Regions from separate parts of the Homo sapiens genome. Here all the other regions are linked to region 5. Evidence: promoter capture Hi-C in 16 types of primary human blood cells and fetal thymus (Javierre and others, 2016). All regions are on one chromosome and are shown on one strand. The core of a region is centred on a gene start or on the middle of the fragment in contact, and the rest is flanking DNA. Distances in the headings are between cores, read along the strand shown. Region 1 holds the start of PF4 (platelet factor 4). Region 2 overlaps LOC105377277 (a long non-coding RNA gene). Region 3 has its middle 29 kb from the start of CXCL3. Region 4 has its middle 46 kb from the start of PF4. Region 5 holds the start of RASSF6 (Ras association domain family member 6). Region 6 overlaps ANKRD17-DT (ANKRD17 divergent transcript). Region 7 holds the start of CXCL5 (C-X-C motif chemokine ligand 5).

What was found. The method cuts DNA at HindIII sites, captures the fragments that hold promoters and counts their contacts. A CHiCAGO score of 5 or more calls a contact.
Region 1: the fragment with the promoter of PF4 here is called in contact with the fragment with the promoter of RASSF6 in region 5 in 6 of 17 cell types (neutrophils, endothelial precursors, M2 macrophages and 3 more); the score reaches 14.6 in neutrophils.
Region 2: a fragment that was not itself captured here is called in contact with the fragment with the promoter of RASSF6 in region 5 in 4 of 17 cell types (fetal thymus, neutrophils, monocytes and 1 more); the score reaches 11.8 in fetal thymus.
Region 3: a fragment that was not itself captured here is called in contact with the fragment with the promoter of RASSF6 in region 5 in 1 of 17 cell types (neutrophils); the score reaches 6.1 in neutrophils.
Region 4: a contact is called between a fragment that was not itself captured here and the fragment with the promoter of RASSF6 in region 5, in 1 of 17 cell types (endothelial precursors). The highest score is 5.7, in endothelial precursors.
Region 6: a contact is called between a fragment that was not itself captured here and the fragment with the promoter of RASSF6 in region 5, in 1 of 17 cell types (megakaryocytes). The highest score is 6.5, in megakaryocytes.
Region 7: a fragment that was not itself captured here is called in contact with the fragment with the promoter of RASSF6 in region 5 in 1 of 17 cell types (monocytes); the score reaches 5.0 in monocytes.

What each region holds. Positions count from the first base shown.
Region 1 is chr4:73,980,225-73,983,563 of GRCh38, reverse strand. It overlaps PF4 (platelet factor 4), which reads left to right and starts at 1,537. Exons shown (of 3, transcript NM_002619.4): 1 at 1,537-1,701; 2 at 2,021-2,147; 3 at 2,273-2,753. The coding sequence starts at 1,611. The coding sequence ends at 2,360. RefSeq lists an enhancer at 1,844-2,585. The HindIII fragment of the contact is 10,026 bases long and covers 837-3,339 here.
Region 2 is chr4:74,117,154-74,120,695 of GRCh38, reverse strand. All of the region lies in intron 1 of LOC105377277 (a long non-coding RNA gene), which reads left to right. It also overlaps a transcript of MTHFD2L not described here. Among named protein-coding and RNA genes, the nearest start is that of CXCL2, 20 kb to the right of the region's middle. The HindIII fragment of the contact is 613 bases long and covers 1,920-2,532 here.
Region 3 is chr4:74,065,942-74,069,473 of GRCh38, reverse strand. No RefSeq gene overlaps it. Among named protein-coding and RNA genes, the nearest start is that of CXCL3, 29 kb to the right of the region's middle. The HindIII fragment of the contact is 1,573 bases long and covers 649-2,221 here.
Region 4 is chr4:73,934,006-73,937,463 of GRCh38, reverse strand. No RefSeq gene overlaps it. Among named protein-coding and RNA genes, the nearest start is that of PF4, 46 kb to the left of the region's middle. The HindIII fragment of the contact is 1,440 bases long and covers 1,360-2,799 here.
Region 5 is chr4:73,618,435-73,621,702 of GRCh38, reverse strand. It overlaps RASSF6 (Ras association domain family member 6), which reads left to right and starts at 1,267. Exons shown (of 11, transcript NM_177532.5): 1 at 1,267-1,415. RefSeq lists enhancers at 695-1,243, 1,244-1,793. The HindIII fragment of the contact is 3,198 bases long and covers 1-1,602 here.
Region 6 is chr4:73,315,043-73,318,207 of GRCh38, reverse strand. The region is part of intron 3 of ANKRD17-DT (ANKRD17 divergent transcript); the gene reads right to left. Among named protein-coding and RNA genes, the nearest start is that of ANKRD17-DT, 57 kb to the right of the region's middle. The HindIII fragment of the contact is 4,979 bases long and covers 1-3,165 here.
Region 7 is chr4:73,996,491-73,999,902 of GRCh38, reverse strand. It overlaps CXCL5 (C-X-C motif chemokine ligand 5), which reads left to right and starts at 1,226. Exons shown (of 4, transcript NM_002994.5): 1 at 1,226-1,430; 2 at 1,565-1,697; 3 at 1,808-1,891; 4 at 2,248-3,412. The coding sequence starts at 1,322. The coding sequence ends at 2,266. It overlaps LOC124900715 (a long non-coding RNA gene), which reads right to left and starts at 1,675. Exons shown (of 2, transcript XR_007058140.1): 1 at 541-1,675. The HindIII fragment of the contact is 1,301 bases long and covers 1,161-2,461 here.

The DNA.
Region 1 (3,339 bases), core at 288-2,787, 360 kb before region 5:
TTGAGTCTCTACCAGTACACTGAAACAGTGATAAATGTTATAATCTCTGATTTCATAGTGTTTTCCAGTTTAGGAAACAAAACCATTTTTAACACTATGAAATACACACATACACACACACACATACGTATCTCTGTGTAATATATATATATGTGTGTGTGTGTGTGTGTGTGTGTGTTACCTGTGAGAAACAGGAAAGACAGAGTTCTGCAAGATAGAAAGGCAAGAGAACACAATTACATATAGTTGTCAGGGAAGGGCCCTCTGAGGAACTGACACTTAAGCTGACTCCGGAAGTATAAATAAGTCTTAGTCAGGTGAAAAGGCAGGTAGTGGGAGAGTAGGAGGAAGAAATTACTCAGCTCAACAATTAAATTGCATATTTCTATAGAAGTCCAGTCCTACCACATATTAGAATATCAGCTTTCCATGCAGTGGGCTCCTGACACCCTTTACCACTGTTAATAAGTGTGATAGAGAACCTCTGGCTTTGGGTTAAGGGTGTACCTTGCCCTAATCAAGAGCCAAAGTCATTCTTTCTCAGAGAAGGGAAGACTGTCCATATGGATCTCTTCCCCTTTCCTATGTGGGATTCTATTGCATCCCCTCCACCGTCACCTCCCATCATTCTCACATTCAACTCCCAGATGCCTTGAATCCTCCTGCAGAGAGCATCACTGCTCCCCACCAACAGTGCAGCTCATCTCACCCTGTCACTAGCACTGGCTGAAGACACAGCAGGCACTGGGAGACATGGCCTGGCAAACTCTTCTTGTCCTCTCTTCTGGACTGTTATTCAGGATGGAAACAATGAAGAAACAGCCAGGCACTAAGCTTTTACAAAAAGAATGCATTCAAATATTACTTCTGCAATTTTTCCAAGAGTACGAGTAATGGGAAAATAGACCTTGCGTCCTACAGCATACTGGGTGATTGTTGGTGGAGCCTGGTAAATACCATCCAGAGACTAGGGAAGTTTTCCACATTCAGGTGAAATTCAAAAGAGTCATCGCCTAGAGACCAAATTAAACTTATTAGTAGCAGAAAATAATTGCGAATAACACATGCTTCACACACAAAGCCACCAAACTCAGTAGTAATAATTGGTAGTTGCAGCTGGGAGGTTGGAAAGGAAACAGGAACTGTCAGGGTCCTGAAAGCACCTACTGTGTAAGTTGCATGATGACAGCAGAGAACTCTACTGTTAATACAACACAAAAAACATTCCTTTTCTGACTCAAGTTCTGTTTCTAACTCTACAAACGTGCTTGTATGTAAGTTGAGGTTGGAGGTCCCAGCCAAGGCAGCTGCCCAGAGCCTTTTCTTTCTTTCTTTCTTTCTTTCTTTTCTTTTCTTTTTTTTTTTTTTTTTTTTTTTTTTTTTTTTTTTTTTTTTTTTTGGTAATCTTGGCTGGCCAGAACCCAAGTCTTCCCAGTACTATCTTAGTTTCCGCACCGCAGTTCCTCGGTGTCCACTTCAGGCTTCCGGACTGGAAGGACAGCCGGGAATAAAACGTGCCGGCGAGGCTCAGGAGTCATTGGCCACAGAGACCCAGCCCGAGTTTCCCATCGCACTGAGCACTGAGATCCTGCTGGAAGCTCTGCCGCAGCATGAGCTCCGCAGCCGGGTTCTGCGCCTCACGCCCCGGGCTGCTGTTCCTGGGGTTGCTGCTCCTGCCACTTGTGGTCGCCTTCGCCAGCGGTGAGAGCAGAAGCCAGGCTGTGAGGGCTGGCAGCGGCGAGGGGGAGTCCGGGAAGCCCTGGGGCTGGGGAGGAATCCTCTAGGATCATGATCACAGCCACACTTAACGGAGAGCCTGCTGAGTGTCTGGCCACAGTGCCAGGCGCTGCACCTGCACCTCCCACCTGGTTAGAACAACTTCTGTCTGGGGGAGGTGTGATTTATGGTAAGGAAAAGAAGGCTGAAGGTAGTGGAAAAAGTCCCTAAAGTACCTCTGGCTACTCATGGAGTCACCACTCCCTCCCCTCCTCCTCTCTTACCCTCTCCATTTCCCCCTCAGCTGAAGCTGAAGAAGATGGGGACCTGCAGTGCCTGTGTGTGAAGACCACCTCCCAGGTCCGTCCCAGGCACATCACCAGCCTGGAGGTGATCAAGGCCGGACCCCACTGCCCCACTGCCCAACTGATGTGAGTCCTTGCACTGCATCTGTCAGTGCTCCCGCTCCGTGCCTCCTCTGCCCAACCCTCCCCCTTCTAATGCCATTTGCAAACCCAAGGACTGAAAGTCACATCTCTTCTCTTTTCCCTGCCAGAGCCACGCTGAAGAATGGAAGGAAAATTTGCTTGGACCTGCAAGCCCCGCTGTACAAGAAAATAATTAAGAAACTTTTGGAGAGTTAGCTACTAGCTGCCTACGTGTGTGCATTTGCTATATAGCATACTTCTTTTTTCCAGTTTCAATCTAACTGTGAAAGAACTTCTGATATTTGTGTTATCCTTATGATTTTAAATAAACAAAATAAATCAAGTTGTAGTATAGTCAAAATACTTCTTAATAATAGTGCAAAAATTGTGTTGACACATAACAATTTCATGGAAGAAAAAAATTCCGGTATTTTAAGCAAAAAGTATTTTGAAGGAAGGTGTGAATACTGGTTATGCTTGGTGTTACATGTTGGCTGATACATATTCATGCATTTACATGATTGCAGTACTTTATAGCTACATATTTACCTTGACCATTATTATTACCTTTGCCAATAAATATCAGTAACACAGATGGCTTTTAAAAAATTAAGTAAATAAATAAGACTGTTTTTATGCCCACAAATTCTGGAAACAAGGAGACGTACTAGATGATGTTTTTATTCATCCCTCAGGAAGGCACTGCTCTACTCTGGGGAGAAAGGAAGTTGTTGCAGTGTTGGTATATTAGTTACCTATGGCTTCTGTAACAAATCAACACAAACTCAGTGGCTTAAACAATACAAATGTATTATCTTGCAATTTGGGGGGTCACAAGTCCCAAGTGGGTTGAACATGCTGAACTCAAAGTATGATCATAGCTGTGTTTCTTCTGAAGGCTCTAAAAGAGAATCTATTTCCTTTCCTTCCTCAGCTTATAGAGGCATCTACGTTCTTTAGCTTATGGGCCCTCCATTGATTTTCAAACTGCATCACTCCAACCTCTGCTTCCATTGTCACATCTCCCCTCTCTCCTCTGACCTTTCTGCCTCTAACTCTACCTACCTCTCATAAGGAGCCTTGTGAATACGTTGGACCTGCTTGGATAATCCAGAAACCATTTCCATCTCTGGACATTAAAACATCTGTGGAGACTTTTTTGCCATACTAAATGACATATTCATAGGTTGCAGAG
Region 2 (3,542 bases), core at 977-3,476, 500 kb before region 5:
TTAAGGGCATGCACTTTAATGTGGTTAATAATTTTAATCACACCTTGCAAAACATTGTTAAATTTAGGTGACATTTTTTGGCTAGCCGACATTTCTCTACGGATGACACAGTGTGAAGAGTTACATTCAGAAGTGACCTCATTGACCCAAGTAGTGAAACCAGAAAGCTGTCCAGTCATGGCAGTCGGTCCGTCCATGCATATACTGACACAAAATGACCAATTGAGTTTTCCTGATATGCAATCATTCAAAGACTTGAATAGTTCTGCAGCTATGGTATTAGTTGGCAACAAAAGTGCACATAACATATCCTCATGCACATCTTCTGAAAAATATATTGCACAAAAGTAAGCATTGTTGCCTTACCAACATTGGTAGACTCATCAACCTGAATCATGTACTGCGGTGGCTCATTAACTCTCTGTAACAATTGTACCTCAACATTCTCTGCTATTTCATCTAATCATTTAGTTATGTGCTAGCCAAATGAGAAACACATGCCACCTTTTGAACTGCAGCCTCTCCTGAAAGTTCATGACATATACCCTTAGCAGCAGGCAAAATCAACTCTTCACCAATAGCAAAGGGCTTCTTAACTTTAGCAATGTGGTTAGCCACTACGAATGATATGATGCTGTCAGTACAGACACATTTGATAAAATGGTGGCCTTCAATAATTGCTTCTGTTCTTCTTGTTCATCTTTTTTTTTTCTTTTGAAAAACTCCAAAGTCTTGTTTAACACAGGGTGCTTGGTTTCCATGCAGTGAAGCAGTTCTGAAGGTTTCATGGCTTCATTGCATAGCCAACCACCACATATTATAAAAAGAGGGCTTGGAGAATGTGAATTATCTGGTGCAATGACCCTGTAATTTAAGTAGGACTCATGGTATTTTGTTTTTTTTGTTTTTTTTTGAGATGGAGTCTCGCTCTGTCACCCAGGCTGGAGTGCAGTGGCACGATCTCGGCTCACTGGAAGCTCTGCCTCTCAGGTTCACGCCATTCTCCTGCTTCAGCCTCCTGAGTAGCTGGGACTACAGACACCCGCCACCATGCCCGGCTAATTTTTTGTATTTTTAGTAGAGACGGGGTTTCACCTTGTTAGCCAGGATGGTCTCAATCTCCTGACCTCGTGATCCGCCCGCCTCGGCCTCCCAAAGTCCTGGGATTACAGGCATGAGCCACCGCGCCCGGCCAGTATTTTCTTTTAAATGCAGCTTTCTTTTTGTTGGCAGTCTTAGAGTCTTCTGCTGTCTCATCATTGGTTCTTTCCCACTTTTCAAAGAAACTCTCCAGTGATGATTGTTTTTATTCATTTTGGCTAGGGTTAGCTTGTGGGCTTACCAAAACTGATTGAGACAAGTGTGCAGTGCAGGAAAGAGGTGCGGATGGAAGTGACAAATAAAATAATGGGCAGGACACACATGGACTAAAATAAGTGTCAGATTCTGACTTAAAGCCTGCCACCAGATGCAGCTGTACAGTTGAAGTACATCAACTCACTTGCCACTATAAAGCCAGCAACCAGATGCAGCTGTACAGTTGAAGTACATCAACGCACTTGCCACTATAAAGCCAGCCACCAGATGCAGCTGAATTATCACCTGCCACTCACTGACAGGGTTTTGATATGCGTCTGCAGGCAACTGATTTATTATGGTCTCTGGGCAGTCAAACCTCTCTGCTAATGTTAATCTGTGTTTGCAACCACTCCTCAGAGCTAGCATCACCACCTCAGCTCCACCTCAGATCATCAGGCATTAGACTTTATAAGGAGCATGCAATCTAGATCCCTCTCATGCGCAGTTCACAATAGGGTGTGCACTCCTATGAGAATCTAATGCCACCACTGATCCGACAGGAGGCAGAGCTCAGGAGGTAATGTGAGCAATGGGGAGCGGCTATAAATACAGATGAAGCTTTGCTCCCTTGCCTTTGGCTCACCTCCTGCTGTGTGGCATGGTTCCTAACAAGCCATGGACCACTGTCAGTTCTTGGCTCAGGGTTTGGGGATCCCTGCTCACATGACCTTTTCTCTGTGTGGTTGCATCTCTGGTGTCTTCTCCTCTTCTTATAATGACACCAGTCATCTTAGATTAAGACCAATCCACATGATCTCATTTAATCTTAACTACCTCTTTAAAGGCCCTATTTCTAAATACAGTTATATTCTGAGGTGTACTGAGAGTTCAGACTTTAACACATTTACAGGGAATGCAATTCAGTCCATAATACTTAATGAAATGCCTTTGCTCTGTTTCTACTGATATTTATTTTGTTTTATAAGAAAAGTTTCAGTTCCTGGTATACTGTGCACTGTTGAAGAGCCTTTGCAGTAATTACAATTAAAAAGTACTTTATTTTTATCTGGCACCAATGAACAGCTGAGGCCTATGTATTTTTTCGTGTGAATCAGGAGAGGACAAAAGAGGGTTAAAATCTGTATTAATGTGCTCACTAGACAAGAAAAGCAAACTTTTATTCTATAAGTGTTTAGTTTTTGATATCTTTAACTTTTGATATTTTACTAAGCTTAATTATTTGTTCATTAACTTAATAATGTTATTTAATAGAATCAGTGTTATTCATAATTTCATAAATACTTTTTCAACACCCTATGTACCAAGCACGGTTGTAGGAGTTGTAAGTACAACAGTAAATAGGATATATGGGAAAGATATATAAGAAAGATATATAAATAAGATATCTCTTCCCTTATAGGTCTTTCAGTCTAGTGAGGATATGAAGTGGCAAGTAAAATGTAGTCAGCAGAGTATTATATCATCGATAAGTACAGAGTTCATGGAAGCAAATGGACAGGACTTTGCATCTGTTTGGTGGGAATTGATATAGAGACTGAGAATTAGGGTTGAGCATAGAGTTCTTAAGACAAAAGTGATGGGTGAAAAGAAGAGGTGACAGTCCTCAGAACCACAGAGTGTTTACATCTGTGTGCTCTCTCCTTTAGAAACCCTGGGCCTGCTGCGGAAGCAGCTCTCATGAGGGAAGTTGCTGCATGGACTTTCAGGCCACTGAGTGACTCTTCTTGCAAAGAAATGACCCCAAATGTTTGAACCTTTGAACATGTGCTCAGGGAAGCTATTGATCTATATATAGATCCTGCATATAACCTATGCATTCTTTAAAATTCAATCCAAGCAGCAGCCCTACTTGAACGCTTCCTGAAAGATCATTCTTTCACCCTCCACCTCCCTGTACAGATTAAGATCTGAAGGTTTGTTCTCCAGGCCTGGGAACATTTCTGTACCCTGCAGCCTGAAAACCCACTGTACCTTTTCTTAACTGACTTCCTGGTTGATTTCCTCTTAACAATAGTAGCTGAATCTGAATCCCAGGAACCTCACACATAGTAAACACTCAAGAAAAATCTGCTAAACAGTGTTAGTCTTTCACAGTCATTCTGGGTCAGCAGCCAAAAGATTCTGTGTCCGAGGCCAGGTTCCTTCTGTTGGCTCCATTCTAAGCTCAGCATGCCATGACTCACTGTTTCCTAGACAATGTCATTTGTTGTCATGGCTATGAA
Region 3 (3,532 bases), core at 186-2,685, 450 kb before region 5:
AGTCTAATTTAGAGGATTTAAGAAATAGGATAAAACTGAAGGTTTAAGCAAGTTGTAGAAGGTTTGTGAAACATTAACCTTGTAAAGAATTCTGTGTGTAAGTAAGTTGACCAAAATTATGAGTATTATTTATTTTTTCCATAAACTGAATATTAAAATAAAAGCACCCTGATGCAGGATAAGAATATTGGCCCCTGTGTCAGAATAACAGGGTTTTTTGAAACGTTGATCTGCTGTTTCATACAAAATTATAAAAGATTACAAAAGGTTTATGGAAATCTTACCTTATGGTCAAACAAATGAAAATTGGGTAATAGATAAGTTGATAAGGGTTTTATTAAAACTTAGCTTTAGCATTAATGATGAACTAATGCAAAAGTGAAATTCAATTTTCCTTTTTGAACAAGATTTTTGAATAATGAGAGACAATGAAATATTTTTGTTTGCCTTTTGAATAATTATATAAAAAATAAGGGAGAGAAAAGAGACACAGACTTTGGAAAGTAAGTATCCTCTTTATCAAGGAGTAAAGCTTTTTGCCTTTTTCAAATATCTGAGTTATCATTATGGCTAAATAAATGACTTACGATGTCCTGGAGTCCTATTTTATAATATCAAGTATCTTAAGCCATTGATGTTTGACAAGCTTTGCAAAATCAAATACTACATTAAATCTTTTTCTGACCTGATTAATCATTTTAGATATCAGGTCCCCTAAAGTCCAAAAATGGCATATTTGGCTTATTTGGTATATTAACATCATACAGGAAGCATTGCCAGATATAGAATGATATTTGGCTTCCTTTAGGCTGTATTTGTCTAAATGTGTTACTGGTATGTGTTCTAAAATTATGCAAAACTCCAATAATTCCGATATAACTTAGTGTACATTATCAGTAATAATTATAAATACTATATACAATTATTGTGTGCCACAGAGTAAATCATATTTCCTTGTCAATTGTGTCTTTAACTGTGGATGTCCTAAGACTTTTTTCATCCACAGACAATTTTTGTCTTGTTTTGATCCTCTTCAAAAGGTGGTTGGTAATCAGCTATAGGATTCTGATGAGTACTCTTAAGTGAAGGTCAGTGATAACTTTGGACAGTGTTCCATTAAAGTAGAGAGGAATAAAACCTTCCAGGACTCTCACAGAAAGCTAATATATCCATAAGGACTGTTGGTCCAATATCAGGCAAAACAAGAGTTAATAGCATGGACAAAACTGATAAAAGACCAAAATAATCTTTTAATAATTTTATTGCTTTAAACATTGATGAGCCTTTCTGCTTTATTTTTCAGAGTCAAGAACATTTTTCTTTTGACCTATTCATAGCTTTTAGCAATTAAGTAAGGTGTATACTCCTCTGAGCAAACTTTGGAGCACATTTCTTTTTCCCTACCTGATTTCTCCAGAATTTGGAAACGATTTGTGAGTATTCTTAACTTACGGCAATATATTTATCTGTATAAGTGCAATAAGAATCTGTTTCTTTTGTAGCAGGACACAGTTGGAGACACTGGTTATTTTACTTAAGGTGTTGACTGGAATGGCATGCTTTCAAATATGAATACACTGCTTTAAGGAATCAAAGTTGACTTACATAAACTATAAAAGCCCCTTGGGAAGCTGGCCTCATACCTTGTCTATGCAGTTACTGTATGGGTTCCTGATTTGTGGTAAATAAAAAATATCTCATTCTGACAGGCCCAGAAACCTCAAGTCATTCTGTGACCTCAAGAAGAGAGGAATTCACCCAACTCTTACAAATACAATTATTTGAAGGCACAGGTAAATCTGTGGCTGGACTCAGGGCTTTAAAATGTCTAATATGGGATTCCTTATAGAACAAAGTTTCATCAAAGCCAAATCAAACAAAGCCTACATGGCAAATAATTATTCTTCTTGCACTTTATACAAATAATCAGGCCAAGTATAACAATAAAACTAAAACTTATTTTGCAAACAAATCAGTCCTGCCATGATTTGTGTTTGGTAAAAATGGGAGTCTAAAGAGAGAACAATTATATTTCCAAAAAACTAGAATACACCTGTTGTTAGATTCTAGTCTTGTTTGTTGTTTGTGAGATTTTATCATTTTTTATGCAATTTAAACTGACAAGTCCCCAAACTAATGTCTTCAAATTTATCTTCTCTTTTTCCAACTAAACTAAATAAAATTATTACTATCTTTTCTTGAGGCTCTGTAAGCTAAAGCTTATTCCTTGTGAGACAGGTGAGAAAAATGTGTCAGACTGCCACCACCTTCCGCCTCTATAACTAAAGATGTTTTGAGACTAACATATGGATAGATTGTGTCACCATGAATCTTTGTTTTTCTTCTGTTCTCATAAAAATGTCTTTTATTGAAAATCTGTTTTGCTTTGTATTTCATATATCAGAAGACTGGTTTTCCAGTCTATTTACTAGATTCCAAATGGCATCTACACTTCTTATAAGCATTGTTCAACTGGACTTAAACATTTAATTATCACTAGGTGTTATTGGATTTTCCTGTTAAATAATTATTTGTTATGTTCAAGGGGGTTCAAATAGTTAAAGTTTATGTTTTCCTGACTAAAACTCTTCCAGAAAAATATGCCCAAGGGTATTTTCCCAAGGGTTCTAGCCTGTGCCACTGTGGGAAAGACCAAGTCTCTATAAATTATTACATCAGGTAGTGAGAGATTTCTGTATCTCCAGAGCAGATAGGCGTGACAGTCCCTGTTCAGAATGAAATCGTTATAGATGGTGAAACCTCTGTCCTTTTCCAATCCCTTAAGATTAAGGGGGTGTATTTAATCTCTGAGGTGGGGATGAGATAAGAGTTTGGCAGGACTGCTTTCACAAGGTACAGGTCACAAAGATCCTACTGGTAAAAGAGGTTGTGGTAAAGAAGCTGGTCAAAATTCCCCAAAACCAAGAAGGCAAAGAAAGCAACCTTTGGTTGTCCTCACTGCTCATTATACACTACCACCAGCACCATGACAGTTTACAACTGCCATGGAAATGCCTGGAAGTTACCCTGTATAGTCTGAATAGGGGTGGAACCCTGAGTTCTAAATTCCTGGGCCCTGTCCTGGAAAACTCATGAATAATCCATCCCTTGTTTAGCATATGATCAATAAATAACCATAAAAGTAGGCAACTAGGAGCACTCGGGGCTGCTCTGCCTGTAGGTAGTCACCCTTTTATTCCTTCCTTTTCTTAATAAACTTGCGTCCATTTTACTCTGTCAGGTTGCTCTCAAATTCCTTCCTGCATGAAGCCAAGAACTCATGAGGTCTCCCAGGCTGAACCCCAATTTTGGGGTTCTCCCTGTGACCCAGATTTTCTAAAGTCTTAGCACTATCTCTTGTACATAAGTCCAATAACGTGTGCTGACTGGTTGATATCTGAAAAGATTCTAAAAAAGACATTATTATTTAATTGATTAAAAATATAGCTGTGCACACTCATGTGCCTAAAAGTCATACTCTAAACATATTATAAACACAGTTTGAGAAATCGAAGTATTCATTTTCAGCATA
Region 4 (3,458 bases), core at 830-3,329, 310 kb before region 5:
TTTTAGTAATTCAGTTTTAAGAGCTGTGAAGCTGAATATACTGCTCCTGACTGCAATAAGTTAATTTATTCTGAATTCTATTTCCTTAATAGCCTATCAATAGATGGAAGATTCCATTAATACCTTAAATATGATCATTCAAATTGACATAAAATGAAAACATAAGTTAAAGCATATTAATTTCCTGCTTAGTACTAACTTGGATTTTAAAAAGATACAGACTTTTTTATGACAGCACATTTTAAATAATTATTAACTGCAGATGTCATTGGATCCTTCAAAATTGCATAGTTCCACCTCCAGGAAATAAAAAGGCAAACAGTTCATATCTTTATCAACAGATTTATTACATTCTACACTTCCCATTCCTCCCAAATAAAACAAACTGGAAAACTAAATTCTACTTTCTTATTGGCTTGTAACTGACAAACATCACTTTGATAAGTTTCTCCTTTCATTCTTCAACAAAAAGGGAGAAGACAACAAAATTGCTCTTGAGATTGTGGTGGCTGAGAAACACTATAGTCCTGAGTCTACCAAGGTCTGAAATCAGAAATGTCTACTGAGATCTCACATTCTTTGGCTATCTGCCCTTACAAAGTTTGTCCTTTTCTTTCATCCATTTAACATTACATAAAAGAGAAACCAGGTCTAAAGAGATGTTTTTTGGCTTTAAGCAAAACAAAAGCTGTGAAATATCTAAAATTAAACTAGGACATGCATGCAGTTTGTCAAGTGTCAAAGAAGCCCAGATAGAGGCAGAACAAATTTATTTAACTTGAAATTCTGATTAAAGGGTCTGTACTTCTCTTTCTGAAGGGTAAAGGGGAGATGATGGTAGTAATATTATTTCAAGTCAATCTAGGGTGTTTATTTTAATATTAGTTAGCAGATGGAATTATTACATTCAACTGAAATCTTACATCAAATTATACCGATAAATTTTCGCTGGACTCAAGCAGTTCTTTTATACTTATGTAGTTATGGTTTTGATTACAATTACAACCTTAAGGAGTGGATATTTGCTCTTTTATGCCTAACACTATTTCATAGTAGCAGCTCAATAAATTCATATTGATTATGATATTGGCAAATAATTGGTATTCTGTGATTTCTCCATGACTATTTCTATTAATGTTGAATTCTTAATCCAATATTGTGGCCAGCTACATTGATTTGAAATAGTAAATTAAGGGTTAGGCAATATGGCTGTCTTTATCTTCATTCAGATTTTTCTGTACTTACCTCACATAGCTGATGCTTCTGAGAGCTAAGAGTTGCAATATCAATATATTTGGAATATGATTTTTTAAATTTTTTTCTATACTCATTAAAAATGTCCAGTTGATACTTGAAGCTTCTTGCTGTAGCTGAAAAGAAATAATGTAAGTAGGAATTATGAGGGGAAAGTAATAGTCTCTAGTAGTAGTTTTCAGAGATGAAGTTCTTGCAAAATTTACCAGACTAACAATATAGGAGACAAGGGTTTGGGCATTATTCTTACATGGTGAAGGAAAAAAATCACTATCTTCAAGATTCTATTCTAGTAACTTCTTCTTCTTCAAAAAAAAGTATCTGACATTGGAGCATGAGTAAGGCATAAACTGAAATGTGTAGATTGATTTTTGAAGTCAATGAACATCTATAATAAGCAATGACACATACTAGCATTAAAAATACTTTGATAATGCTAGATTATTGGGAAGTCTTTTATATACTTGGACAAAGAACATTCAAAAGTTGCAATATAATGTAGCAGGTTTAAAAAGTTTTTTAAGTTGCACAATATGTCATAGATGTATAAGATTGTATAGAAACATATACTATATAAAAACATGAATAGATGTTTTATATAAATAATATTTAATATTAAAGATTGTATAAAACATGTATATGCATATGTATACTATTTGCATGTGTGCCTATATACATATATACACACAGACAAAGGTTTAGGAAGAGTAACAAAATAAACCACTATGCCCATTTCCATGTTTAAGATATGAACATTAGCAGGATACTGGAAGTACTCTCTGTACCCATTCCAAATCTCATCTTTCTCCTTTCCTGTCACACTCCTTGCACCTTAACCCTTAACTTGAACTCAGTGTCAGTCATTCCCACTTATTGTAGTGCTTAACATCTATAAGTAAAATCCTAAACAATTGATTATTAATTTTATTTGTTTTGAACTTTGGAAAAATGAGCTGATGCTACACAGATATGACCTAATTTTGTCATTTAGGAACTTGTTTGTGAATTTCATATAGGATGATTTATTTCAGTCAATGACTGCTATTACATTTTGTGGCAACACAAATACTTATCTGGTCCACTGCTGTGTGGAAATTTGAGTTGCTTACAGTTTTGCTAATACTAGTAACATAGCTCTCAACATTTTTTGTGCTGAGCCCTGGGTATATAAGTCCTAGAGATACTTTAGGATATATATGTAGGAGTGGAATTACTGGCTCATATGGCATGCATATATTCAACTTTACCAAATCATAAAAAATTATTTTTAAAATGATTGTACTCATTTACCACACCCACTAGCAATTCATGAAAGTTTCTTTCCTCCACTCACTGGCCATCCCTTGAAATTTTCAGACTTCTGAAATTGTTGCTAAATGACTCTATAATGGTATCATATAGTGATTTTAATTTGCTTTTTTCCTTATTATAAATGAAGGTGAATATCTTTTCACATTTATGAACCATTTGTAGTTGGTCCTCTGTGAAACTTCTGTTTCTTTTGTCCACTTGTTCTGTTGTGCTATTAGCCTTTTCATAAAAGCTTTAAAAAATTTTGGATGGTAATCATTTGTCACTTACATATGTGGCACAAAGTTATCTCTGCAGTGTGTTTTAAAGTGAATTTTCTATAATATAATTTTTTCTCTTACGGCTGATCTTTTCTCAGAATCATAAAATATTCTACATTGTCTTCTAAAAATTAAGTAGATTTGTCTTTCTTACTTAGAACTTTAATCTACTCAGAATTGATTTTTCTCTATAATGTGAGGTAGAAGTTTAATTTTATTTTTTATATGATTACAAATTGGTGCAGTATCATGTGTTGAAATGTTAATCATTTTTCAATCTCTGTCATAAATCAAGATTTCTTATATGTGTAGTTTGTTTCTAGACTTTGTTTTTTTCTCATTGGTCAGTATGTCATATCTACATGAGTGCTATACTATCCTAATCACTATATTATTATAAAATTTCTTGATAACTGAAAAGGCAAGTCTCCCAAAATTGTTTTTCTTCTTTAGGAGTCACTGATCTCTTCTCAGTTCTTTGATATACACCTTAGAATTACTTTGTCAATATGTAACTTTTGAATTCAACTTTATTGACTTTATAGATCAGTTTTGGGAGAGACAGTTGATGCAAGTTTAAGATATTAACATTTTATGGTATAGCCCATAAATTAAGGTCTTTAATATTAAAAA
Region 5 (3,268 bases), core at 18-2,517:
TTTTTTTTTTGCAGAGACAGGGTTTTGCCATGTTGTCCAGGCTGGTCTTGAACTCCTGGGCTCAAGTGATCCACCAGCCTTGGTCTCCCAAAGTGCTGAGATTACAGGCGTGAGTCACTGCACCTGGCCTGCCTCACCTTTTGAACATATAGGATCTTACTTAAAGTGCTATGACAAACATGCAACCTGAACATCTAGAGTCATTCTGTTTGTCTGGCGTTTGAACACGAAAGATACTAGAAATTAACTCTGCCTGCTGAACTTTTTGCAGGAATCAGATTGAATTTCTTTTGAGGGCTCTCAGGTTTACACTTGTAAAATAACCTATTATGTTTAAAAATTATGAATAGTTGCTTTACATAGGAAACCAGTAAAATAACAATGATCCTTAAAAATCTGTGTGTGTGTGTGTGTGTGTGTGTGTGTAAATGTACTTCATATTTCCACAGCATCTGTCATTTAACAGTTTCTAAGCCTTTTTGGTGTCCTTTTGAAATTGGAGATATTGGATAAAACAAAGCCCCCAAATCCAATTCAGTAGATAATGACTAAATTATTATTTATCTCCTCTGTTTTGTTTCATTATGTTCATTTTCAAACTTTGATGTCTACCAGTTTCTTCTGTGGAGCTTATAAAAAATATAAATACCCGAAGTGTATGCATGGCCTACTAAATCAGAGTCTCACAGTTGATGGTACCTGGGTTTAGCAGAATACATAGGTGGTCCTGGTGCACCCTGAAGCGCGAAACGCTGCTCTGGGTGAAAAAAAGTGCTAGCAGGGAAATGTGTTAGCAAAATAACAAGGAAAAGAAAGTTAACAAATCTCAAATTGGAAAAGAAAAATCTTAAAAAGAAAGACGTGAATAATGGCGTTCAGTCTTGGTTGGTGTCATTTCTCACAGGCCAATTACCTACAGTCTGGGTGGACTAGAGAATAGAGATTAACATCAGTCAAATCCCGTGGTTAAAGCGTTAACTAGAATGTCCATTCATTTCTCAAGAAGTGTGGCAGAGAGCAAAGGAGTGTACCTATCAGCTGTTCCTAAGAAAGTAAACACTCCCAACATGCACTGAGGCACAGGGAGTGGCTCAGGTTTCTTGACACTTCCCTGCTGTGGCGAAAAGGAGAAATAATTAACAGCTCCTGGGGCTCCAGGATCGCTGATCGCGTCGGGGGCACTGCAAGCGCCCAGCTGAGCCATGCTCTGGGAGGAGACAGGCGCCGCCCCTGCGCCCGCGCGGGCCTCGGACCTCCCCTACAGGTGAGTGACTCGCGGAGTCCCAGCCCGGCAGAGACAGGGCACTGGTTTCCCTCTACCAGAGTTCCTGACCCAGCCGAGAACAAACCGCGAAGCAAGTTCAGCCGAACAACGATGGTGAAAAGGGTCCTCCTGCTCACAGTGTGAATAACAGGTAAAAAATGGGGATGGGGAAAAAAACTTTCTAATCCACTCCCTGGGGTCATGTTGAGGGCAAGTTATTAGAAAGCAGAATCCATAGGCAACAAAGTTAAGTGTGTGTGTGTCATAGCAGCCTGAATCGCACACATGCCTTTTCCTTTTGATTTTCTCAGAATATGCTTTCCTAACCAAGGTAAGCTTGTAGGGTGGGAGGGAGAGAGGGGAAAGAAGGGAGGGAAAGGGTGCAGAGAAGGGCTTGGAGGTAAATGTGACCATAGGACCCCTCCTCCCTTTAGTTCAATGAGCCCTTCACCTGTAATTGTGCCTGGCAAAAATCGTGCCTTACAAAGATACTAGACTTCTGGATGGCATACTCCTTCCTCTGAGTATCCTTATGGTTAGAATATTGTGTTGAATCATCGCACTGGAAAGAACTTAATTGAGGGTTCAGCTCAACTTTTATTTGTTTCTGCAAAGTGACAGAAAGCATGCCCCCCACCAAAAAAAAAATGAATTTTCAATATAAGCGCTCACCAAACAATGAAATAATAAACATAAATAATTAAATGGGAGTGCATGAGTTAAGGATATGAATTCTGAAGCAGAAGAGTGGTAGGTTCAAAGCTCGGCTTTGCCACTTATTAGTTTGCCCCCTCTCAAGTTTCTTAACCTAAGCCCCAAACGTTTGTCTGTAAAACAAGCATCATCAAAGGATCTGCCACATAAGGCTTTCTTTGATGGGAACTGAACAGTCAGCAAGTGTTCTGTAAGTGATACCTACTGTTAGCATTAAGAATAAGCTGCTCTGCCAAAGGGGCCGTTATCAGGGAGGGCAAGCTGAACTAGGGAGACCAGACAGTGTGTATTAGGATGCTGGAATTGAACTGGTTCCCGGAGACTGGATCCAGGACAGGCAAGCAGGTGACAGGTGTGCTAGGATCATCTCTCTGGGTAGCAACGAAATGACCTGGCTTCTTTCCATTTTTCAGATAGAGTATGTGGTGGCAAATTCAGACATATTTGCTACTCAATCAGTTTTCTTTTGAAAAATTCACATTTACATTAATCTGTTATTCCTAAAAAGAAAATAGAATTTTAGAGTAAGAGAGTTACACACAATCTCATATTGTGGAATTCATGCCATTTGGGTTTTATAAAGGAGACTGCTTTTGAATAACTTTCATCAATTTAGACCATATAATCCATGTCTTTATATTTCAGCACATATTGAATTGTTTGTATTGAAGTGCTGTTTTTAATTTGTGTTGATGGACAAGAGACATGAAGGAATAATACTTGTATTTTGTCAGTCTCTACCTCTTAAGCTTAAATTACAGGAAAGTGGCTTTATTTTATGAAGTTTCACTTAAAGGGCACTTTTGTCAATGTTGTTAGTTATTAATGTTGCTAATTTTCTTGAGGGGACCAACTTAGTGTCTATGACTAGTAATTTCCATTGACTTCATTTTTATCTTGTTATTTTATTAAATAAAGCAGTCAAAGAGTTTGCAGTATACTCTAACTTAATATCATTGGTGTTTTAATGGATTCTTTTTTCAAATTGCAGAGTTGAAATTCTTCAGTGTGCTTACAATTAGATATTGACTGGAGAATTGTGGATAGAATTCTAAACCCAACCTAACTGAAGTTTACTATGTTATTTCCCTCTGGGGTCTGATTGTGTTTAGTACAGTTTAGCTAAAAACTTATAAAGGAATCAAATTGAATTAGAATAAGTTAGGGTTCCAATATTCATTAAAGATTTTTCAAAGAGGAAATATGCTTTTATGCTGAATTTCCATATTGTTATACATCCTTAAACAAAGTTATTTGCCTTTATATTTATTGATAGACATATGTCTAAAT
Region 6 (3,165 bases), core at 462-2,961, 300 kb after region 5:
CCCTGGGGGCTCAGTTCTGCTATACGGATTTAGTCACAGTTCCTGGAAATGCAAATAAGTCTCTTTCTTCAGTTCTCAAAACATGTCTGTAAGTAATCCATTTAGCACCTCACAGGATAAATCCTTTTTTTTTCAGGATGGAATCTGTTATCTTAAACTGAACCCTGACTAACATACTACCCAATTTACCTTAAAATTGAAACCAAGGATAATACAAGATAAGGATAATAAAAGGATAATACAAGAATGAAAAATGGTGTGTGAATGTCATTTATAGATACAGATTTAAAAACTGAAATAAAATATTAATGAATCAAATCCAGCGCAGGAGATGAACATAGAAGGGATCAAGTGGGTTTTATTTCAGAAACTCCAAAATGTCTGAAACACAGAAAACCAATTGATGTGATTCACCACATTTATAAATTAAATGAGCAACATAATTAGTTTAGTTAATGAAAAATGCATAAGAAAAAAATGCAACATACATTCATGAGTTTTTTTTTTGTAAAGCATACCAAGAATAGAAGAAAATGGGCGTATAGATCCTGAGACAAAAGTTGAAGTTTTTTTCTTTTTAAAAAAAAAGAAAGAAAAAGAAGGAAATGGACTTAACTGTCATCTTTTTAAACCTCACAAACATCTTATGTAATGATAAAATGCTAGAAATACTCTCTTTAGAGTCATAATACACAGATGTCCATTATAGACATCGCTTTTCAGTAATGTACTAGTGCTCTCAGATAATAAAATCTGAAAAGGAAAATAAATAAGAATTATAAATACTATAAATAATGAAGGATTTTATCCATATTTTTCTTTGCCCTCACTGTGTAGCAATACACCTATTGCTCTTCATGAATAGAATCAATCACCTCTGCCAACACCTGAATTCCCTTTTGGTCTGGTTTGTCCAGTGGCATCAATTATTCAAAACAGCCAGTTGGCAGTGGCCACTGTCGATACAGTTGAACTTTGCTTGTGTCTCTTGGTGGTTACAGGAAATCTCTTTTAGATATTAAGTAATATCTCTTAGACATTAAGATCTCTGAACCAGTAAAAACTCATGTTCTGAAGACATGATGCAAAAAAATGTATAAGTAGGCATTTGGTGTAATTTTATGAGCCACCACTTATAGTCATTGCTTCCCAAATCTACACATTCTGTTTATGAGGAAAACAGCCCATGTACTGATTACCAGTTCAGAGCATATAATACTTTATGCAAGACAACATCCTGACCTCCCAAGAAATTGCTTTCCTGCCTGGCACTATAGGTGCTAGTCTTCAGTACGACATTTCGACAATCTATAAAGCAGGTGGTAAGGGATAAATTGTAAACTGTAAAATAATTCCTTGGAGACAATGCTGTGTGGGATGCAATGACTGTGAATAAGACACTCAAAAATTCCAAGAAATAGTGCTGCAAACAAAAGCATGGCAGGCAGAGAAATCCAGCTGAAATCCTTTCTAGGTACCTGCTCTCTACTTGCCCTAGTCCAGTTTATGGTACTGTGGCAGAAAGACCTACGAGTGGCCCTTGCAATTCTCACCTCCTCGTATTTACGTCCTCCTATAGTCCCCTTCCCTTGAGTATGGTAGGGACCTATGACGTGCTTCTAACCAGTAGACAGTAGCAAAGGTGATATCACTCTTATGATTACATTATATGGCAAAGATGATGGATGTAATTCTTGTGATTAGATTATGTTACCAAAGTCTCCATCTTAGCAGACTGGAGCTAGAAACTCTCCTTGCAGATTGCACTAGCTACATAATTTGTGGGGCCCACTGCAAAAGCAAAACCTGGGGCTCCTTTTTTCAAAAATTACTAAGAATTTCAAAACAGCTACAAAAGAGCCTTAAACCAAGTGTGGGGCCTTCTAAGCACAGGGATATGTGACAGCATAGGATGTGTGCCCATAAAGCCAGCTTGGCTTGTATGTTTGATGAAGTAAGTGGCCATGTACTAAAAGACTATGTGTCAAGGGGCTGTGGGCAGCCTCCAGACAAAAGCTAGCAAAAAGTCAGGGCCTTCAATCATATAGCCAAAAACTATGAATTAACTTAGAATTGGACTCTCCCCTAATGAAGCCTCCAGACAAGAATGCCAGTATGGCCAGCACCTTGATTACAGTCTTCCGAGAACCTGTGCAAAGAACTCAGCTAAGCCATGTCCAGACTTGTGATACGTGGAAACTGTGAAGTAATAAATGCGTTTTGTTACCAATGGCTAATTTTGTGATAATTTTTATGCAGCAATAGAAAACGAATGGAGATGTCACATAAAAGATTGAGGATAAGTTCCTGCTGTTGGCAAGCCTTCAGGAGTAAAAATTGATGTTGTTGAGTCCATGCATGGCCTCCATCCCTGCAAGATTGGTATTTTTTAATGAGCCTATTAAGAAAGCAATGGTATGGTCATAGATAGAGGCTAACTGCCAGCCTCTTTGATTATTAAGAGCTTCTTCCATGGTAAAGACTTTTTGACACGCTTTCATTTGGGACAATATTCTCATATTCTGGATCCATAGGAAGACATCTATCCTTGTATTTTACTTTTCAAACTCCTTGTTTCTAAGACTCTAATCTTCCTCCTTCTAGTTCCACTAGCCAGTCACCATAAATGGGCATAGATTCTTGATTCAGGCTATGGTTTTCATAACTGGAAAATTACCTGGGATACTCAAAATTCTACCTATCAAGAGGAATTCATTTTTCATGGTCCTTAAGAGCTAACCCTGATTAGATTTGTAGGGAGGTGGTAGTCTACTTTCACCTAGTGCCAGCAAATTATGTTGACTCATCTGTTAACCAAGGTCAGAGATTTAGGTCATAGGTAACTTGCCATGAGGTCATAAATGAAGTTGAGAGAAAAATGACAACGAAGCAGAAGTAGCACACTCAGAATATGAATCATAAACACATGTATCCTTCTTGTGCCTCTAGATATTCTCCGGCTCAGTTCCACATATATTACTTCCTTTTTATAGTGGACTGCTACTAGGCATGACTAACTTGGTACTTTAATGGATAACATGTGGTTCATCATGATCAGCTCAGATCAAGTAGTTATCCAGACTAATGGTCAGGAATTTATGGTCTATAATTATGGTAATCACGCCAATTTGCCTTAGTAATTAAGTACTCTAATTTCTGTCAACC
Region 7 (3,412 bases), core at 562-3,061, 380 kb before region 5:
GAGGGAGAGGAAGCTGGAAACTACTTCACCCTTCAATTTCAGGCAGCAGTGCAGGGCTCACTGGGGACTAGAGTAGGCCTGTGGAAACAGCGTTGGTCACCAGTAATCATGAAACTCGATGGTTCCAGAAACCTGTGGGGAGCATTCCTCCCTCCGTGAAGTTGTTTGAGGGAAAACAGACTGGGTGCTGTTGTGCTGCCAAATTGATACAAACCCCTACAAGAAGCTTTCACATGAGCCCTTCAAACTCATCAGCCTCCCACAGCATCTCCAAATGGTGTCAAATACATATCTGGGGCTGGGAACAGAGCTGGGGCAGGCCTGGGATCCCTGGCAAGCTTTAGCCTGCGCTCACCATACTACACCTCACCCCCAACAAGACCAAAACCTCTTCCAATTCAATAGCATAGCAACTGCCAATAGCAAGGTATCTTCCATGGCAATTTGCTGGGTGATTTTGGAAGATTTTTGTTTAACTACCTGGACACACGTATACTTGCTATATACTACAAGTACAGAATTCTCAGTAAGCGGACTTACCAAAGTAGGTGATCTGTAGGGGAGTTAACAAAATTCAGTGGTCCTTTCAGGCCACTGACTTCAAGTGGCAAGAGACAAGGGTCTCTTGTTATCATGTTATCTTGGCTTCCAAAGCTGGTTGAAGTCCAGAGATTCATAAAGTCATTCAAGAAACCTAGAATGACCTGCCTGCAAGGAAGACAGGAAGGACTTTCAGTTTATAGCAATTCAAACATGAATAACATTTCCTGATTAATAGTAATAATAATTAGAAAGGATTGACTTTCAGAAATTTTTCTCAAATCAAGGCTCCTGTTACTTTGGTTCCACCTTTTCTCTCTAGAAGGAGAGGAGGAGCATCTCCCAGAGGGCTGCGTGCCTCAGAAAAGCCGGCATCCCTAGCCCGCTCTGGCACAGGCCATGAGGCCCTGCTGAATCCTGCTGAATAGCTACTCCCTTCTAGCTGGAGCCACAGCTCCCTCCACCGCGGAGCAGGGTTACAACGTCCCTCTCGGTAGAGGTGCACGCAGCTCCTCCTGGCCACCCTCCCCACCAGTTCCCATTGTCTGGCCCCCCTCCCCCAACCTCTTCTTTCCACACTGCCCCATGAGTTCAGGGAATTTCCCCAGCATCCCAAAGCTTGAGTTTCCTGTCAGTGGGGAGAGATGAGTGTAGATAAAAGGAGTGCAGAAGGCACGAGGAAGCCACAGTGCTCCGGATCCTCCAATCTTCGCTCCTCCAATCTCCGCTCCTCCACCCAGTTCAGGAACCCGCGACCGCTCGCAGCGCTCTCTTGACCACTATGAGCCTCCTGTCCAGCCGCGCGGCCCGTGTCCCCGGTCCTTCGAGCTCCTTGTGCGCGCTGTTGGTGCTGCTGCTGCTGCTGACGCAGCCAGGGCCCATCGCCAGCGGTGAGAGCGCATGGCGCGCGGGACGCACTCGCACTCGGGCACAGAGGTGCATCCCAGCCTCTGCGGGGTCGCTGCGTTCCAGGGAACTCTCCCAGCAACCTGCCCTATAAAGGGTGTCTCTCTTTCTTCCCCAGCTGGTCCTGCCGCTGCTGTGTTGAGAGAGCTGCGTTGCGTTTGTTTACAGACCACGCAAGGAGTTCATCCCAAAATGATCAGTAATCTGCAAGTGTTCGCCATAGGCCCACAGTGCTCCAAGGTGGAAGTGGTGTAAGTTCTGTGCTGCTGTGTCCGCTGTGACCTTGGCAAGAGAGAAATCCCGCAGCCTGGGTCTTCAACCTTGGTATCTCATGAGTGTATCTTCTTTTTCTTTCCTTCAGAGCCTCCCTGAAGAACGGGAAGGAAATTTGTCTTGATCCAGAAGCCCCTTTTCTAAAGAAAGTCATCCAGAAAATTTTGGACGGGTACTTGTCACTTTGATCTTTGTGGTTTCTAAATCTGATCTAGGGAGACCATAGACTTCACAAGGTCTTTATTCTCTGTACGATTTAAGTAACACTTTTCATGTTTAGAATTAAAAGGTTGTTGAATTGGGAAAGTTTTTCTGGATTGTCCTGGGAAAATATACCAATCTTACATGTAATTACTTGAGCAATTACACACAGCTTGTCACTAAGTTATGTTTTTTGTTTACCCATTGCTTTTATTGATTTTTGTATTCTCCTTTTTTACCAAACATCATAAACGCTGAGTTTTGACAAGGGTGGAGTAGAAAGGAGTGTGAAAAATGGTTAAACTAATATAACATTTTTCTCAACAGTGGAAACAAGGAAAACTGATTAAGAGAAATGAGCACGCATGGAAAAGTTTCCCAGTCTTCAGCAGAGAAGTTTTCTGGAGGTCTCTGAACCCAGGGAAGACAAGAAGGAAAGATTTTGTTGTTGTTTGTTTATTTGTTTTTCCAGTAGTTAGCTTTCTTCCTGGATTCCTCACTTTGAAGAGTGTGAGGAAAACCTATGTTTGCCGCTTAAGCTTTCAGCTCAGCTAATGAAGTGTTTAGCATAGTACCTCTGCTATTTGCTGTTATTTTATCTGCTATGCTATTGAAGTTTTGGCAATTGACTATAGTGTGAGCCAGGAATCACTGGCTGTTAATCTTTCAAAGTGTCTTGAATTGTAGGTGACTATTATATTTCCAAGAAATATTCCTTAAGATATTAACTGAGAAGGCTGTGGATTTAATGTGGAAATGATGTTTCATAAGAATTCTGTTGATGGAAATACACTGTTATCTTCACTTTTATAAGAAATAGGAAATATTTTAATGTTTCTTGGGGAATATGTTAGAGAATTTCCTTACTCTTGATTGTGGGATACTATTTAATTATTTCACTTTAGAAAGCTGAGTGTTTCACACCTTATCTATGTAGAATATATTTCCTTATTCAGAATTTCTAAAAGTTTAAGTTCTATGAGGGCTAATATCTTATCTTCCTATAATTTTAGACATTCTTTATCTTTTTAGTATGGCAAACTGCCATCATTTACTTTTAAACTTTGATTTTATATGCTATTTATTAAGTATTTTATTAGGAGTACCATAATTCTGGTAGCTAAATATATATTTTAGATAGATGAAGAAGCTAGAAAACAGGCAAATTCCTGACTGCTAGTTTATATAGAAATGTATTCTTTTAGTTTTTAAAGTAAAGGCAAACTTAACAATGACTTGTACTCTGAAAGTTTTGGAAACGTATTCAAACAATTTGAATATAAATTTATCATTTAGTTATAAAAATATATAGCGACATCCTCGAGGCCCTAGCATTTCTCCTTGGATAGGGGACCAGAGAGAGCTTGGAATGTTAAAAACAAAACAAAACAAAAAAAAACAAGGAGAAGTTGTCCAAGGGATGTCAATTTTTTATCCCTCTGTATGGGTTAGATTTTCCAAAATCATAATTTGAAGAAGGCCAGCATTTATG